Linked DNA regions of Homo sapiens: all the other regions are linked to region 1. The links are contacts of gene promoters, found by promoter capture Hi-C in human tissues and cell types (Jung and others, 2019). All regions are on one chromosome and are shown on one strand. The core of a region is centred on a gene start or on the middle of the fragment in contact, and the rest is flanking DNA. Distances in the headings are between cores, read along the strand shown. Region 1 holds the start of DHRS4-AS1 (DHRS4 antisense RNA 1). Region 2 overlaps KHNYN (KH and NYN domain containing). Region 3 has its middle 28 kb from the start of NGDN. Region 4 has its middle 15 kb from the start of MYH7.

What was found. Contacts are between HindIII fragments. The study calls those that stand out against the background at their distance.
Region 2: a fragment that was not itself captured here is called in contact with the fragment with the promoter of DHRS4-AS1 in region 1 in 1 of the 25 tissues and cell types used here (adrenal gland).
Region 3: a contact is called between a fragment that was not itself captured here and the fragment with the promoter of DHRS4-AS1 in region 1, in 1 of the 25 tissues and cell types used here (mesenchymal stem cells).
Region 4: a contact is called between a fragment that was not itself captured here and the fragment with the promoter of DHRS4-AS1 in region 1, in 1 of the 25 tissues and cell types used here (IMR-90 fibroblasts).

Annotation. Positions count from the first base shown.
Region 1 is chr14:23,953,410-23,956,587 of GRCh38, reverse strand. DHRS4-AS1 (DHRS4 antisense RNA 1) reads left to right here and starts at 1,476. Exons shown (of 2, transcript NR_023922.2): 1 at 1,476-1,840. It overlaps DHRS4 (dehydrogenase/reductase 4), which reads right to left and starts at 2,818. Exons shown (of 8, transcript NM_021004.4): 1 at 2,672-2,818; 2 at 1,376-1,553. The coding sequence starts at 2,799. RefSeq lists enhancers at 2,177-2,306, 2,357-2,486, 3,097-3,178. The HindIII fragment of the contact is 7,990 bases long and covers 1-3,178 here.
Region 2 is chr14:24,433,987-24,437,326 of GRCh38, reverse strand. It overlaps KHNYN (KH and NYN domain containing), which reads right to left. Exons shown (of 8, transcript NM_015299.3): 6 at 1,148-1,255; 7 at 838-939; 8 at 1-291. The coding sequence ends at 42. Among named protein-coding and RNA genes, the nearest start is that of KHNYN, 5.7 kb to the right of the region's middle. The HindIII fragment of the contact is 4,482 bases long and covers 1-3,340 here.
Region 3 is chr14:23,496,339-23,499,412 of GRCh38, reverse strand. No RefSeq gene overlaps it. Among named protein-coding and RNA genes, the nearest start is that of NGDN, 28 kb to the right of the region's middle. The HindIII fragment of the contact is 8,706 bases long and covers 1-3,074 here.
Region 4 is chr14:23,448,674-23,451,856 of GRCh38, reverse strand. No RefSeq gene overlaps it. Among named protein-coding and RNA genes, the nearest start is that of MYH7, 15 kb to the right of the region's middle. The HindIII fragment of the contact is 6,568 bases long and covers 1-3,183 here.

The sequences.
Region 1 (3,178 bases), core at 227-2,726:
CCATGGCCTCTATCTTTCCAATGCAGCCCCTTCCCCAGCAGTACTCCTGAGCCTGTGCTCTCCACTGTGGCCTGACAGTGCTCCTCTGTTTCCTTCAGTTCCTCCTTGGCTGTCTGCTCATTTTGCAGAGTTATCTGGAACCTCATCACTATTCCATCTGTCCATTCCCATCCATTCCTTAAGGTTTAGCTCAAGTACCACCTCTGGGCCAGGCCTGTAGGCCATGTTAAGTGAACCTGGTGGGGGCCACAGGATGTTTTTCCGGGAGGATTTTCACATTACATTGCTACATGTCATATGGTTAGTGCTAATTGATCCAGACTCCCAAACGGCTCCTTCCACCATCAGGATCAAGGCCCCAATCTTGGGGTCTGTCCATCAGCCTAAGCCAAGCTTTTTTGGACTCACATTTGTGACTTTCTTGGACTCATATTTGGCTCTTTCCAATGCACATTTGAGCATTTGCCAGACAGTTCCTTAAAAATGGAATTACCCTATTCTGTCTACCATACTACTGTCTACTATTGCTTAAGATCCTCCTCTTCTAAGATTATGCAAATTATTTCTGCCAACCTTCCAATCTGTTAGCAGAATCCTGTACTTTCCATTTTTGGGTAGATTCTCCCTTCCACTCTGGGAAATAAAGTGTATGCCGTGAGCCTCAAGGGAAGAGGAGCTTCCTTTGTGAATGCTTCATATTTGCTTCAGCAGCTGCAAGGCTGGTGTCCACTACTAATTCTGACATCGACTTATATACTTTCTTTGAGACTAAAGTCCAGTACCCGGTAGTCCACAGGCAGCCAATAAAGGAAGGGAGCCTGGGAGGTCTGGGTCTTTCCTTACTGGCTGTGGGACCTTGGGAAGTTGCTCCAGCTATCTGAGCCAGGGTCTGCAGACTGAGAGAATAGTCCTTGCCTTGCTTGGGTTGTTGTCAGGTCTAGAGATAACCTGTGTAAGGCTCTGAACACAGGAAATGGCACATAGTAAGTGGCTGAAACATGGTGGGCTGCTTCCTGAGGTTCCCAGGGACTTGACTCTATAAGCTGAAGAAGAGGGGAATGTTTATTAACTCATGGGTGGGAACATGTATTTTGTGATTGTATTTACCCTTCACATCTGTTCAATTAGATTGAAAATTACTGCAGAACCAGTACCAGCTGTTTCTTTGGGGTACTCAAGGGATGATGCAGGGTTGAAGCATTAGAATGTTTTAAAATTCTCTGACTGAGATGGGATGATTCTCTGACGTTAGTATATGGACATAATAGAAAGGCACACAGTAAAAATGTGCTGCTGTCTAGGAAAGCAGGGAAGGAGGCTCAGGCTGGCTCCGTTTTCCACCTCCTGGCTCTGTGCCCATTTCCCTGCAGCTCACCGTGGCCACCAGCCGCTCCCGGTCCTCCGCCTTCCCCACATGGCACACGGTGCCCGTCACGCTCAGCCCCTCCCCCTGCAGCGTGGCCACCGCCTGGTCCACATTCTGCTGCTTCCGGCTGCTGACGACCACATGGGCCCCGTCCTGGGCCAAACGCCGGGCGATGGCGAAGCCGATCCTGTGAGCAGAAAGAGACAAAGACTGCTAAGGCCTGTGCAGGGGAAGAGGTCGACAGTATGAGCTCTGAAGTTAAGACTGCCCGGGTTTGAATTCTGGCTCTTTCTCTATATAACCCCTACGTGTGCCTACTATGTGTAAAACAGGCTTAATGGCATGGCCATTTTTGGCATTCCTTTACTTGTTTTTATTATGACCTGGACCACAGCCTCAGTTCCCAAGAACTGACATCACTTTCTACAGTTCCCACCATGGGTGACAGGCTTCATCCCCTCTTGGGACTGAGAGGTGAGAAATGAGCTGGGTTTGCAGCAGCAGCCACTTCCGTGATTTGAGGGTCTCACTCAGAACAGCCCTGCCCCCAGGTTTCTTTCTTACTCGTCTACATCATTCTCAAAATTCTATCCTTAGTTATTTTTTGGGGTGCATGTGAAAAGATGGTCTCCGGTCAAAAATGTAAATATTGCCTTGGGAGGAAGAGTTACACATTTTGCATTTGTCAGCTATTAGCATTTTACCTACATTTGTATTTTAGTTTTGTGAAGAGCTGGCATCTAGCAAAGTCCTGTAGAAATGAGGACCAGGATAGACAAGAATGGTGGGTGAGAAACAGGCTGGGCAAGGTCGGCCCAGATGTACCGACCTAAACAAAAATCTCGACATATGGCTCTGGTGTCCCATCTAGGTAAGGGGGAGGGGTTCCGGGGGACTTTCCGGTGCCCAAATAGAATGTCTGGTACATTTTCAAAGTGCTGGAGGCCGTGGGATAGTATTTTGAAATCCAGATTTCCTTGGATTTCCAGTTTCTGGTCTTCCCAGACGCTAGGTGGCGCTGGTTGACTGGGGCAGCCCAGAACACTGGGGAGACTAGATCGATAGGGCTGCACAGAGGTGGCACAGTTGTGCCAGAGGTAGCAGGGACAGGAGGGCTGGCAAGGGAGGGTCCAGGGCTAGGGGATTCGGAGTGGCTTCAGGCGGACCACGTGGCTACCTTTTTTCCAGGGCCAGACTTTGGCAGCGTGTAAGGTCTGAGGACAGGGGCACCGGAGGCCGAGGATGAGAGGCCAGTGCCTGTTTCCAGGCAGCCAGGGCCTCAGAAACTCCGGCCGGAGCACTCACCCGTCGGTGGAGGCCGTTACCAGGGCCACCTTATTTGCGAGCGGGTCCCGGCGGGTCATCCCGGAGCTGGCCATCCGCACCGAATTCCAAGCCCGGGCACAGAGGCCTAGCAGCCCCGCCTTGTGCATGGATCAGACCAGCAAGTATGGGTTCCACTCTTCCCAGGGGCGGTGACAGAGTAGGGCGAGGGGCAGGACGAAGGGCGGGCCGATTCCCTGCCCGCCCTGCTCCCCGCCCCGGTACCGCTGTGAGCGGTCTGTGGCCCTGGGCACCTCCATCCGCCGCGGCGCCCCTCCACCATCTACCTTCCGCCTGACTGGGGCTTGCCTTTCCGGGCTGGCGGGTGAGCTCTCCGTTCAAGTTGCCTGTAGGGCTCGCCCCTCCCCTGGCCCTTGCAGGAACCCGCAGGCTTTGGCTGCTGCCTTTCTGCATCTGCTTGCCCACCTTTTCTTCTCTGGGAAGTGGGGGTTTTGAGTTGGTTGCTTTTGCTTCTTCAGAATTCCTTCT
Region 2 (3,340 bases), core at 325-2,824, 480 kb before region 1:
GCTGGAGCTGACAGGGCGGCAGCCACTCAAGCAGGTGAGGCTCAAAAGTTAAGACTGAGCAGGGCCTCAGACAGTTGGTTGATGTCCCGGCAGTATGGCTCCCGCTGCAGGATGAAGTCCACTTTGTGATCCTGACCCCAAAACACCTCCAGCAGCTGCCGCCGGAGCCGCTCTGTTTCCCGGGTCTTCCGAATGCCACCACTACCTTTTTCCTCTTCTCTCCCCTGCTGCTGTTTACCATGTTCTGCAAAGCCCCTGGAAGGATGCTGAGCCTTAGAAGACCCCTGTGTCCTGGGAAGAAACAGACCAAAAAGAGCTGATGAGCATCCTGGGGGGGAAATTAGATCTTAGTGGGCACCCCTCTCGTAATTGTCCTGCCTATTCCTGGCTTTGGGGGAGAAATCCTGAAGTTCCTGAAGCTGACCACTGAGTGGCAGTATCAACCCACTTCTGAAGGGAAGATGGGCCGTTCTTTTAGAAACAGGGTGAACTCTGCCACTATTATGATCTAGTTCTAGTCCTAAATGAATCACTTATGTAATGGTCAGCAGAAGGCATGCTGAATACAACTGGCTGTCAGTATAAGCAACCATTTTCCAAATAACTCCATCAAACATGCTGATTAAGAGAAACAGGAAGCAGGTGTTTCCCTCCCAGCAAGGAGGTTCTATGTCAGGATCCCCTGGGAAGCTTATAAAGGCCAAGGCCAATGCAACTCAAACCACTGCAAAATTAAGCTGGCCCAAACTGAGGTCACACTTCCACCCAAGTCTCTGGGCCTGCTGAGAGAGGGCCAGGGGTGGGGGCTGCCTGTAAGTAGTCTAGGGGATTGATTACCTGGCTGGCTTCTTCAGAAATTCATCCAGGGTGGGGCCGTTTCGCCCCAGTGGGTCATCAGGTACCATGAAGAGGTTTCCCACAAAGGTAAAGGGCAGCAGGCTGGATGGCGAAAGATAATGTGTGGTCACAGAGGGGGCCCTTGCCCACCTCCCAGACAACCGAGACCAGTATCACCAGAAGCTGCTGGCTCCATCCTTCAAGAAAACTTCACCTCCTTCCCAGAGTTTTCACCCCATGGCCAGAGCAGAGCTGGCTTTAGAAAAACATCTGCATCTGTGCCCAGTTCTCAGCGGGAGGGCTCCCTCACCGTTCTCTGATGATTGCCATCCACTTCTCAGACTCCTCCGCCAGGTCCCGGAACTGGTCATTGGAGACAATTATCCCATCTGTCTCTTCAGCCAGCTTCACCATGAACCTGTCTCCAAAACCACAGCAACCGAGAGAGGGTTGAAAAATTACCTACTGGGTACAATGTTCACTGTTTGGATCATGGTTACATTAAAAGCCTAGACTTCACCACTATGCAATATATCTATGTAGCAAAACTGTATTGGTATCCCCCAAATCTACAAAAATAAAAGTAAAAACCACAGCAACCATTTGGGACTCTCCAAGGCCCCAACCCCAGAAGTTTTACTGTCTCCCATAGGCCACTTCTGGTGATGGAGATCTGGCCCCCTACCTCACCTTGACCCAGCTACAGGCAACTGACTAGATGCAAGTGCCATGGCCTAGAGAGGAAACAAAGATGAATCCAAGGTGGTCTCCCAGTAGCATCCTATCTGCCAACCATAGTCCTTCACCCAACACTTTGTGCCTCGTTAGTAAACAGTAAGATCTAGCTCTGTCTTCCACCCTGCCCAACCAATCCCTTGCAAATCCAACATGCCTTTCCTTTGAAAAGCCTTGTGCTCTGCTCCCTTCCTTCCCAGGCCCACCATTACCACCCCAGTAATTCAGATATTGCAACTGAGATTATGCATAACCTCCTAACAAGGGGGTCCCCGCCTCTGACCACTCACCCACCCTCCAGTCTCCCCTGCCCTGCCCCAAGAAAGCATGCTTATCACCTACACAAAACTCTTCCACACTTGCCCTTTATTTACCAAATAAAGTCCACACACCCAGGCCTGGCAGCTAAGGCCTTCTACAGGCCAGCTCAAATCACCCTTACAGCCTTATCTCTCCCAATATTCCCTAACCCACTCTCAACTCCAGCTAAAATCAATAATCAGATTACACTCTGCTCTCCACATATGTCTTATGCTGACTTCCATATTTCTCCAACTATTTCCTCTATCTGGAAGGCACTTCCCAAGACTTGCTAAGGAACAGAATTACCAAGGGAACTTTTTTAAAAAATGCCTGGGCTCCATTCAGTAATTCTGATTCCACAAGACAGGGTAGGACTCATGAAGTGATGGGTGGTGGTCTTTTTAACAGATTTAGAAACAGAGATCCAACCCATCCCAGTCTTCTCAACACAAAAACTCACAAATCTCTCCTTTCCCACAAAACCCCAGCCAGAATGGGGCTCCTTTCCCTCTGAGTTCCTGTAGTGTTTGATTTATGGTTTCTTTCGGCTCTCTAGTCAAGAATCAGATCTTGTTCCCAGTGTTCCCACCTCCTCCTGCAGGCCATGCACCTAGTACTAAGTGAGCAGTCAGTATTTGAAAGATAGTGTGGTATAGGGGGAACTGGGAGTCAGGATTAGGTGTGACAGATATCAGGCTCTGAGCTTCTGTCTGGGAAACAAATTAAGGGAATGACATACAAATGTCTATGGCCGGGCTTGGTGGCTCACGCCTGTAATCCCAGCACTTTGGGAGGCTGAGGTGGGCGGATCATGAGGTCAGGAAATCAAGACCACCCTGGCCAACATGGTGAAACCCCATCTCTACTAAAATGCAAAAAGTTAGCTGGGCACGGTGGCATGCACCTGAAGTCCCAGCTACTCGGGAGGCTGAGGTAAGGGAATCACTTGAACCTGGGAGGCAGAGGTTGCAGTGAGCCGAGATCGTGCCACTGCACTCCAGCGTGGCGACAGAGCAAGGCTCCGTCTCAAAAACAAACCAAAAAAAAATTATATGGTACACTTATGGTATGCAAATGGTATTTTCCAGTTAAGCATATTTTACTATGATCGCATTACACAGTATGTTGTTCAGCAACATTCATTCCGTATGCCTACGCTGTGTACCACTGTGCTTATTCACTGTTACTGGGCGAATTCCCAATTTATATTATGTTATCTGCCAACCAGGTCCCACACAACTGGGCAGACACATGCCTTTAACATTCATTAAAACGAACTCAATCTTCAGTTTCAATTCTGTTTCAATGCAGGTGTGGAAAGAAGATTCCATATCTTGGGTAATCTGTGACATCTAGATATAAATAGAATAACATTGGGAGAACGTAAACTGCTTTTTTGTAGAATACCATTTGCTTGTTAAGGAATAGAAGGTAAGTGTTTGAAAAGACAAAGTATATAATCACT
Region 3 (3,074 bases), core at 406-2,905, 460 kb after region 1:
GAGACAGTCTTGCTCTGTCACCCAGGCTGGAGTATAGTGGCACGATCTCCGCTCACTGCAAGCTCCGCCTCCCGGGTTCACGCCATTCTCCTGCCTCAGCCTCCCGAGTAGCTGGGACTACAGGTGCCTGCCACCACGCCCGGCTAATTTTTTGCATTTTTAGTAGAGATGGGGTTTCACCATGTTAGCCAGGATGGTCTCAATCTCCCGACCTCGTGATCCACCCGCCTCGGCCTCCCGAAGTGCTAGGATTACAGGCGTGAGCCACCGCACCCAGCCAAGAAAAACTATTTATATTCTCATGCTGAAGCTCAGCAAAGAAGCATGCCAGTACAGCAACAGCAGTATTCCAAGGGGGCAGCTAGGCAGCATCCTGAGGACCAAGATCCACATCTGAGAAAGGAGCTCTTGTAATAAATCTGGAACCCTGGAAAATTTTTTCACTCTCTAAGGAAAAAATCTCCAAAAGCCTCAGTTTCCTCATCTGTAAGATGGTTGCAAAATGCCCCAGTGACTGTAAAGATTAAATGAGCTAGTTTTCCTAAGAAAAACCCCTTATCCTGTGGTTGGCATTTAGGAGTCACCCAATAAATGCTAACACATATTCATATCCTTCTTTCCTTTATAAGTTTTAAAAACTTTTACTTATTTTTATTTTTATTTTTTTTGAGACAGAGTCTCGCTCTGTCGCCCAGGCTGGAGTGCAGTGGCGCAATCTCGGCTCACTGCAACCTCCGCCTCCTGTGTTCACGCCATTCTCCTGCCTCAGCCTCCCGAGTAGCTGGGACTATAGGCACACACCACCGCGCCAGGCTAATTTTTGTATTTTTAGTAGAGACGGGGTTTCACTATGTTGGCCAGGCTGGTCTGAACTCCTATCCTCAGGTGATCCACCCACCTAGGCCTCCCAAACTGTTGGGGATTACAGGCGTGAGCCACCACACCTGGCCTAGCATTAAAAACTTTAAACCTGTCAGGGCACGGTGGCTCACGCCTGTAATCTCAGCACTTTGGGAGGCCACAGCAGGTGGATCACATGAGGTCAGGAGTTCGAGACTAGCCTGACCAACATGGAGAAACCCCCGTCACTACTAAAAATACAAAATTAGCCAGGCATGGTGGCACATGCCTGTAATCCCAGCTACTAGGGAGGGTGAGGCAGGAGAATTGCTTGAACCTGGGAGGCGGAGGTTGCGGTGAGCCGAGATTGCGCCACACTCCAACCTGGGCAACAAGAGTGAAACTCCAACTCAAAAAAAAAAAAAAAAAAAAATTTTAAACCTAAGATCTCATATGATCAAACTAGAGAGATCGCAACTTAGGAAGAAATAGTGAAACCCAACTTCAGAGAAGTTAAGTGCCTTACCAAAGGCCACACAGAAATTAGCTGCAGAGCCAAGATTGGAATGCAGAGCTAAGTCTTTTGTTTATTTGTTTGTTTGTTTTTAGACGGAGTTTCGCTCTTGTTGCCCAGGCTGGAGTGCAATGGCCCGATCTCGGCTCACCGCAACCTCCACCTCCCAGGTTCAAAAAATTCTCCTGCCTCAGCCTCCCGAGTAGCTGAGATTACAGGCATGCACCACTACGCCCTGCTAATTTTGTATTTTTAGTAGAGATGGGGTTTCTCCATGTTGAGGCTGGTCTCGAACTCCTGACCTCAGGTGATCCACCCGCCTCAGCCTCCCAAAGTGCTGGGGTTACAGGTGTGAGCCACCGCGCCCAGCCCTGTTTGTTTGTTTTGAGACAGGGTCTCACTCTGTCACCCAGGCTGTTGTGCAGTGGCACAGTCATGACTTACTGCAGCCTCGACCTCCCAGGCTCAGGGGATCCTCCCACCTCCGCTTCCTGAGTAGCTAGGACTATAGGCGTGCGCTACCACAACCAGCTAATTTTTGTATTTGTTTTAGAGACAGGGTTTTGCCATGTTGCCCAGGCTGGTCTCAAACTCCTAGGCTCAGGCAATCCACCCACCTCAGCCTCCCAAAGTGCTGGGATTACAGGTATGAGTTACTGCACCCAGGCCAGAACTGCTAAGTCTTAGTCCAGGGTTTTGTCATCTATAGCACATAAATGTCCCAAATCTTTTTGTAAGTAAAACCGTTTTCACTAATCATTAAATTTTGCATAAATCTGAGTGGTTTTTTTTTTGGAGATGGAGTCTCACTCCGTTGCCCAGGCTGGAGTGCAGTGGTATGATCTGAGCTCACTGCAACCTCCATCTCCTGGGTTCAAGCCATTCTCCTGCCTCGGCCTCCTCAGCTGCTGGGACTACAGCCATGCGCCACCATGCCCGGCTAAGTTTTTTTATTTTTAGTAGAGACGGGGTTTCACTATGTTGGCCAGACTGATCTCGAACTCCTGACCTCAAGTGATCCGCCCACCTCGGCCTCCCAAAGTGGTGGGATTACAGGTGTGAGCCACCATAAATCTGAATTTTTAATATAGTAACCTCATTAGTAACTGGACCAATCTACAAGGAATTCACTCTAGGGAACCTGAGCCCTCTGAACCCTCTTGGCTTTCCCCAACAGGACAGTGCCTGTGACAAGCTCAGGAACAAAGGAACACAATAGTCCTATTTCCCAGATTTCTTCTTCCGAATATTATTTACTACCAGTTTTATCCTTGACCTTGAAGCTGAGCCCAGCTAAACAGACTACCAAGATCCTTCCACTTGGCAGGATCCCTTTTTAGCCAGAAGGCAAGACCCAAGATGCATAATGTCCAAGGCTCACTCTAGCCACGACATTCCTCTGCTCTTGAAATGCCAGCAGAAATTGTACCATAAGGCAATGTTCAGTAGATAAGCCATCTCTAAGTATATGTAGTATGTTAGATGTTGCAAATGCCACAGAGAAAAATAAAGCAGGGAAGGGGGACAGGGGTTTGTATAGAGGGAAAGATAGGGCCATTTTAAATAGAGCGGTCATAGAGAAGGGGACATTTGAGTAAAGATCATTCTCTGAAACAAAGACAAGATCAGCTCAAAATATAACCTTTGTAGGTCTCAGTTACTTCATCTGCAAGGCAGGGATACTTCAGGACCTACCTGGACGCAGGAGACTTAATGCCTC
Region 4 (3,183 bases), core at 432-2,931, 500 kb after region 1:
TGAGTTGTACTTGTTCTTTATCTATTCTTAACACAAGTCCTTTATTAGAAATATGATTTGCAAGTATTTTCTTCCAGTCTGTGGCTTAGATTTTAATTTTCTTTTTAAAATTTTAATCTTCTTAATGACATCTTTTGAAGCACAAAATCTTTCAACTTTGATGAAGTCCAACTTACAATTTTGTCTTTTGTGGATTATGCTTTTGGTATTGTATGTAAGAACTTGTTTCCTAACCAAAGACTTTTCCTACGTTTTCTTCCAAAAATTGTAAGTTTTAGATCTTACATGTAAGTCTCTGAACTGTTTTAAGTTATTTTTGTGTATAGTGTGGGGTGTGGTCTAAATGTATCTTTTTGCATGTGTGTATCCAGCACCATTTCCTCAAAGAATTGTTTTGGAATCTTTGTTGAAAATAAATTGATCTCCCTTCATTTTAAATTTTAACTAAATGAAAAATTCAGTGTCTCAGTTGCACTAGACACATTTCAAGTACCCAACAGCCATGTTTGGCTAGTGACTACCACACTCAGTAGTGTAGCCCTAGGGGACACAAAGATGAAAATATTACAGTTCTCAACCCCAAGGACCTCATATTCTGGTGCCATCAACTTAAGGAAACTGAAGCGGTGTAAGAATAAGCAATATGCTAACAATGAAAAGCAACAGCAGGAAAAAAAGCCACAATGATTGTAAATTAATGCTTTCAAAGAGTGGCTATATGTAAACATATTCATAATTTTTGACTAAGGAATTCGTCTCCTAGAATTTGTTCTATTGAAATCATTCAAAATAAAAAGAAGCCATGTGTACTTATGTTTAGAGATACTTTATTTATAAGTTCAAAAAAACTACAAACAGGGAGTCAGTGGGAAAGAGGAGTAACTGCTAATAGGTATGGTATTTCTTTTGGGGGTGATGAAAATGTTCTAAAATTTGATAGTGGTGATGCTTGCACAACTCTGAATATACTAAAAACTACTGAATCGTATATTGTAAAATGGTAAATGTTATGGCACATGAATTATATCTCAATAACAATGTTATTTAAAACTATAAACAATCTAAATATCAAACAAGTAAATGTTAATATTTTTACTCAGAAATAGCAAATGAATAGCTCCGTAGCTCCATTTATTGGGCATTTACTACATGCCAGGCACTATTCTGAGCACTTTACATGCATTAATTCAGTGGTTCTCAATGTGTGGTCCTCAATCCAGTAGCATCTGGTATGCAAATTCAGGCATCCCAGGCTGGAGTGCAGTGATGCAATCTCGGCTTACTGCAGTCTCCACCTCCCAGGCCCAAGTGATTCTCCTGCTTCAGGCTCCCAGGTAGCTGGGATTATAGGCATGCACCACCACACCAGCTAATTGTTTTGTATTTTTCATACAGATGGGGTTTCATCATGTTGATCAGGCTGGTCTCAAACTCCTGACCTCAAATGATCTGCCTCCCAAAGTCCTGGGATTACAAGCATGAGCCACTGCACCCAGCCAAGAAAATGTGTCCTAACAAAGCTTCTGTGTGATTCTGCAGCATGAACAAGTTTGAGAATCTCTGTATGTATTATGCCATTCTTGCATTGCTATGAAGAAGTACCTGAGACTGGGTAATTTACGAAGAAAAGAGGTTTAATTGCCTCACAGTTCTGCAGGCTTTACAGTATCTGCTCAGCTTCAGGGAAGGCCTCAAGGAACTTTTACTCATGGCAGAAGGCAAAGCAGGAGAAGGCATGTCATATGGCAAGAGCGGGAGCAAGACAGGGAGAGGGTGCCACACGCTTTTAAACAATCAGATCTTGAGAGAACACACACACTATGGTGAGGACAGCACCAAGGGGATGGAGCTAAACCATTCATGAGAAATCTACGCCCAGGACCTAAACACCTCCCACCAGTCCCCACCTCCAACACTGAGGATTACATTTCAACATGAGATTTGGGGGGACACATATTTAAACTATATCACTGTATTAAGTTATCTGACAGCAAACCCATAGGTTAGCAATATTATTATCCCCATTTATGAAATATAAGATTGTAAGAATATGAAATGCTAATTGGTGTTTTATGAGATTATGTACATATATATCTACACACAGCAGCCATACAAAAAATATGTATTATACACATATACACACCCCTTGGAAAGAACTGAACAAAGGAGAATAATGTGATTGGGTAGGAGATCTTGGGTGTCATTTTTGTAGTTGTAAAGTTTCAACAAAGTTTGTTTTGTGTGTTTCAGGGTCAGCTGTGTTGGACTGGCAAGTGCTTTCAAAGGAGAGCCACTGAGCTGTGCCTAGAAAAGCAGCCAGAAAAAGTCCCGACAAGGTCAGGGACTGAGAAAGCCCAACCTGGGGTGAGGGTGCTGTCCATAGACCAGTCAGACCTGGGGGGAGACTGTGAAGGGATAAGGTGGGGCAGTTGGGCCAGCTTATGGAGGGTCTTTAAATGCCAGCCAGAGGAGTCCAGGCTTCATCTTAAAGACAACAGGGAGCCCTGGAAGTTTCTATGAATGACAGATATGTAAGAGGTAGTGCTTTAGAAAATCAAGTCTGCTAGCCATCTGGTGAAATGAGCCTCTGGAAGACTAGTTAAGGTGCTGTTGCAATTATGCAGACGTGAAAAAGGGGCTTGCCTAGTGTTTTTCAAGAGAATGGAAAAGAAAGGAGGAGGCGGGACATTTCGAAGGTGGAATCTGCCGAATAGTATAAATGTAACTGAGTACCTTTCTCCTGGATCCCTTCCCCTTTCTCTTCTCTAGTTCCCAGTTTCTCTAGGTAGGTTTCTTCATTCTTTACCTGTGACCACAAGTCTAGAATCTCTCATGCAAATGAATCAGAAACTAAACGTTGCTTTCCCCCAAGAATCACTGGTTATGCCACCTATTCTATAAAATCAGATAGTATCATGATCTCTTTTAATACACATTAATAGCTGCTCAGTGCCTATAGATTAAAGTCCAAACTTCCTTAACTTGGTTCAGAAGGTCCTTCATGACCAGCTGAACCTGCCTTCTAGGCTCTTCTCTTGTCATATTCCCCTGATTACTCCCATACTTTAGCCATTCTGAATCAATTTCAGTTCCTCTTGGGGCTTTGGACACGCTGGCTTCTCTGCTCAGCTCCTTCTTGACATATTCTGATATAATTTGTATCTGTGTCCCCACCCAAATCTC